Regions from separate parts of the Homo sapiens genome. Here region 2 is linked to region 1. Evidence: promoter capture Hi-C in human tissues and cell types (Jung and others, 2019). All regions are on one chromosome and are shown on one strand. The core of a region is centred on a gene start or on the middle of the fragment in contact, and the rest is flanking DNA. Distances in the headings are between cores, read along the strand shown. Region 1 has its middle 11 kb from the start of MIR4448. Region 2 holds the start of DVL3 (dishevelled segment polarity protein 3).

Region 1 (2,620 bases), core at 64-2,563:
GGTACCCAGTACCCAGCCCTGACACTGAGCCACAGTGAGCTTGGAGAATACCCAGTGTGTTGGTGGGAGTAGTCCAGGGGCCTTGAGGAGACTCAGCAGCCGGCCCTCAGGCTGCCCTTCCTCCAGGCTCACATCAGTGAAGGAGCTGAGCAGGACACCCTCCTGGCTAAGGACTGCCCAGCTTTGTCCTGAAGACTCCCAGCCACGTCTAGGGACATGAAGCCATTGCCTCCTACAGAGAAGGCCAACAGCTGGGGGCATGTCTGGAAGGGGCCAAGGACAGCCCAGGACAATACACACTGGGGCAGGGGATGTGTGCACACGTGGGTGTTAAGAGGAAGAGACAGAACGAGGAGAAATGGAATGGCAAACAAGCAGAGAAAGAGGAACTGAGTGATGGAAAGACAGAGAGGAGACAGCAAGCTTCACTCTTTAGGGTTGGGGAGAGGAAAACATGAACCATAAGCCCAACTCTAACCTTCAACCTAACCCCAACCCTCACCTTCCCCCAAACCCAAACCCAAATCTTCCCTCTCACCCTCACCTCAGCCCTCACTCTATCTCAAAGGAGAAGTGAGTGATTAGAAAGAGAATCAGACCAAGCAGATGGGAGCAGGGTAACATCTGCTCCTTACCATGTGGGCCCTGGGCTGACCGGAAACAGCATAAGGAGGCCAAAGTGGAGCCAGGATGGGGTCGGTTATGGTCCCCAGCCCTAGAACACTCAGCTCTGGGATTCCGGGGAAGGCCTCATACCCCAGGGCTCATTTACCAAATACCACAAAATTAAACCAGCTATCCCTGTAGAGACCAGAGGGCTGACTACAGAATTCTTGATTCTGACCAAAGAAAAAGCTTGAAATTAAAAAAAAAAAAAAAAGCTTAGCGAGTTTGAAGCCTGCATTCTAAACAGAAACCAATAAAGAATGCAGAAATGGAGCAGCAGATGCTGGCTGGTCGCAGTGGCTCACACCTGTAATCCCAGCACTTTGGGAGGCCAATCAGGGCGGATCGCTTGAGGTCAGGAGTTTGAGACCAGCCTGGCCAACACGGTGAAACCCCATCTCTACTAAAAATACAAAAATTAGTCGGGCGTGGTGGCAAGTGCCTATAGTCTCAGCTACTCGGGAGGCTGAGGCAGGCAAAGGTTGTAGTGAGCCAAGATCACGCCTCTGCATTCCAGCCTGGGCGACAGAGCAAGATTCCATCTAAAAAAACAAAACAACAACAACAAAAAAAAAAACAGAATGCAGAAATTGTTTTCAGGGGAAATTGTTCTTTTTTGCCGTTGTTGCAGTACGGCACGCTTAGGCAAGGTGCCTCATCCTAGCCATGTGTACCAATAGGGCACCCAGACTTGCTCACTCTGTAGCTTCAAGCAGAGGTGTTGGGGAGGCCTGTGTTCTTGCTGCTGCCTGAGTGAGCTATAGATTTCCCAGTTCTAGTCATGGGAATTCCCCCATTTTCTCTACCTGGGATTAAGTAACCTCTGCATTGCAACGGTTCTTACTAATCACCTTCAGAGGAGGAGGCTCCTAGCAAGATGCTCTTTTCCCTCCAGAATTATTTGTGTCCTTTTTTGGGTGATGTTCTGGCCTCCTTGCAAAGGAGGTTCTCAGCTCATGGAACAGGTTCAGAGCACAGCCTATCCAGTATGCAAAAAGGACAGCGCCCCGCCCCCCGCAACAACCGCCCTCCACTTCCCCAGACTGTAGAACCATCTACCTGCTGGGTACCTCCTGGGGTCGCTGTGCCAGCTTCTGCCCAGTAAATGGCAATTTGGAATTCGCAATCAAATAGAATGTCTGAGAAGAGAGACAGGCTGGAAGTGCAACCGTCGTATCAGGGACTATTGCTGTTGTCACGATCACTCAGCTGATGAAATGGTTAGGAACAGTTTAGGAATATCTGTAACATTTAATGATCTACTGTCAAGCTTTGATTCCACTTTCAGCAGACATCTCTCGTCCAAGTTGTAAAAGCTCAATATTGATTTCAGCTCGTTAATGGGCCCCTGGAGCCTTTATCACAGAACAAGTCCTAGAATCAAATTGGCAGGAATGAGCTCTTAATAAGGAAATTTCTAATCCCAAACGGCATAACACAGAGCAGTACCCTGGCCCCCTCTTTTTAACTTAAGTTGGCACAGCTTCTAGACAACCTGGGCCTGGGTCCTTCTGCCACGCCAGCAGCAAGATGACCTGATGCCCTGGTCCTATCCACTTTCCCAGAGACTCTTGACAAACCTGTAAACTTGCTGGCCAATTTCTGCCAAGGACAGAATGACAGTGTAAAACATCTCCATTGAACACATTGGTTCACTTACCTAGAGTGGCATTTTCGTATAAATACAAACAGCAGGGCATATGGTAGGAAAAGAAAACACTTTAGAGTCAGAGGGACATGCATTTGAAACTCAGCTAAGTCACTTACTAGCTGTGTTTGGGCAGTTTCTTAAGCTGCCTATGCTGAAGTTTCTCTATCTATGGAAAAGAAACAGCAACAAAGCGTCCGAAGGATAGGGCTTCTGTGAAGAAAAAAATCTGTGGAGGAAGGAACCTCAAGTCTGGGCAAATTAATAATAAGTTAATAATGGGGCTGGGCATGGCGGCTTATGCCT
Region 2 (2,620 bases), core at 47-2,546, 260 kb after region 1:
CTACAGGCATGCGCCACCATGTCCAGCTAATTTTTGTATTTTTACTAGAGACGGGGTTTCACCATTTTGGCCAGGCTGGTCTCGAACTCCTAACCTCAGGTGATCCACCTGCCTCAGCCTCCCAAAATGTTGGAATTACAGGCATGAGCCATTGCGCCTGGCTTCCCCTGTCACTATCCCATCACTTTGTTTTACCTTCTTCATAGCAGTGGTCACTCTGAAGTTATGTATTTACAAGCCTATGTGCTTCCCTCCAGCTGAGGGAAGGTCCTGAGAGCAGCCTTGTCTGTCTCGCTATCGCTATATCTCATGCGATATGCCTTATACACAGTAGGCCTTCAGTATTTATTAAATGAATTAAAAGTTAAGGGGTGAGGAGATCTGTGAGGAACCGGCTATACCTAGTTCTGGAGTTCTGGTTTGAGACTTACTGTCTTAGGCATGCATGCATCCACTTATCTTTTTTTTTGGGGGGGGGCGAGGGGGGATGGAGTTTCACTTTTGTTGCCCAGGCTGGAGTGCAAAGGCAGGATCTCGACTCACCGATCTCGGCTCACCGCAACCTCCGCCGCCCGTGTTCAAGCGATTCTTCTGCCTCAGCCTCCCGAGTAGCTGAGATTACATGCATGCGCCACCACGCCCGGCTAATTTTTTTGTATTTTTAGTAGAGACAGGGTTTCTCCATGTTGGTCAGGCTGGTCTTGAACTCTCGACCTCGGGCGATCCGCCCGCCTTGGCCTCCCAAAGTGCTGGGATTAGAAGCGTGAGCCACCGCGCCCGGGCCCCACTTATTCCGCATTCAACCCATTTATTAAACCACTACCTTGCAACTGGACGCTAAGGTTATAGGGAGGAATCAGAACTGGATGCTGTCCTTCTCTCGAGATCAGTTTAGTAGACTCAGTGACAGCAGTTGTGCTTCTCAAGAAACACTGAAGGGCCATGTTGAGGTCATTCTCCTCCAGGGATCCAGAGTCAGACCCACCCTCTTTCCCCAGACCATTTCTGGGGACCAAAGCAATCCCTGCATTCCACTCTTCCTGGACTGCAGAGGAGTCGCCGATCCCACTTGGGTCCGGAGTCAGGGCCTTCAGGGGTCCGGGAACGCCGCCATCCCGGTGAATCTCCCCTTCCGTTTCTAGGGACCCGGGACCGGAGCGCCGCGGCCCGGCCAGTGGGCGGGAAACCCTGCCATCTGCCGCGACGCCGGCGCCTCTCCGCGGCGGCCGGGGGCGGGGCGCGCCGGGGCGGGGCCGCGCCGGGCCGGAGGAGGGGAGCGGGCCCGGACGAAGCCCTGGGCCGGGAGGGCCGCGGCCACCGGAAGAGTCGCGGTCGCCAGTCCAGTCGGGAGAGTGGGGAGCGGAAGCGGCGGCCGCGGCGGCGGCGGGCGGCGCTGGGACCCGGTAGCGGCCGGAGAACAAGGGAGCTGGCGCCGCCAGCAGCCGCCGAGCTGGGTTGAGCCGCTGGGCCGCGCCGCGCGCCGCCGCCGTCTGGGAGGCTCGGCCCGGCCGCCCGAGCAGGCCGCGCGCGGGCCGCCGGGCCCGAGGCCAGAGCCATGGGCGAGACCAAGATCATCTACCACTTGGATGGGCAGGAGACGCCGTACCTTGTGAAGCTGCCCCTGCCCGCCGAGCGCGTCACCTTGGCGGACTTTAAGGGCGTTTTGCAGCGACCCAGCTATAAGTTCTTCTTCAAGTCTATGGACGACGATTTCGGGTGAGGATGGCCCCCGCCCCGCCTCCGGGAGCCCCGGCCGCTCTGGCTTCTAAGGGATGACGCGGTCCGTTTCGACTTGCCTCGCTACACCGGCTCCTAGCCCCGCTCTGACTTCTAGGGGCGACTCGGCCCATTTGGGCCCCTTTGGTTCCAGCCCCAGTAGCAACTCCCGTTTACCTCTGAAGAGGGGACGTTGGCCTCCCTTGTTTAAGGGGACGTCCAATTCCCCACTAGCAATCAGAGTTCCTGCCGGTGCGGTCCCCTTACCTCTTCAGAGACCAGTGGCCCACAGAGACAGACACACCCCCCCTCCACCTAGTTTCAGAGCCCGAGTCCCCCATCCTCCTCCTGCCGAGGAGCCAGAGCCACCTTTTTCCGCACAGACTTGGGTCGTGTGGCCCTCGTTCTTCGCCCCCTTCATCTTTTCAGCAGCACAGCTCCCAGCCATATTTGGAGTATGCTGCATCTGAGGGCTCTGCTGGGACTTTGAGCTGGGGGAGGGGTGTCGGGGGTGCTCGGGCGCCTGGCCGCGAGCGGGGTCTGCAGATCTGATGTTTATCTAGCTGCCTGCCCTCTCCTTTGTGGGCTGTTGTGGGTGTTGTCACCGGAACAGAGAGCCTGACCCCTGCGGAGTAGTCCTCACTGACCCAGGTGCTGATCTTTCCTCCAATTCGGGCTTTTTTCCTCCAGTTGGTGGCCAGTGGAGAGACGTTAGGAAGGGCCTGGGGCCTGGGTGGGATAGCCAGGAAGAGTTTCTTGGTGTTCTCTATCTTCCCCTCCCTGGTGGGGTCTTCCCTTCCACCCAGCTGCAGAGATCTGGACAGGCACAGTTTGGAAGCAGTCACTTTCCCTTTAAGAGGGGATGGAATGTTGGAGCCGGAAGGTTCTGAAGCAGCTGGCCTGG

Evidence for each region. Contacts are between HindIII fragments. The study calls those that stand out against the background at their distance.
Region 2: the fragment with the promoter of DVL3 here is called in contact with a fragment that was not itself captured in region 1 in 1 of the 25 tissues and cell types used here (spleen).

Annotation. Positions count from the first base shown.
Region 1 is chr3:183,896,396-183,899,015 of GRCh38, forward strand. It overlaps the pseudogene CYP2AB1P. Among named protein-coding and RNA genes, the nearest start is that of MIR4448, 11 kb to the left of the region's middle. The HindIII fragment of the contact is 5,560 bases long and covers 1-2,620 here.
Region 2 is chr3:184,154,081-184,156,700 of GRCh38, forward strand. It overlaps DVL3 (dishevelled segment polarity protein 3), which reads left to right and starts at 1,297. Exons shown (of 15, transcript NM_004423.4): 1 at 1,297-1,716. The coding sequence starts at 1,556. RefSeq lists a silencer at 1,194-1,543 and an enhancer at 1,881-2,620. The HindIII fragment of the contact is 10,362 bases long and covers 1-2,620 here.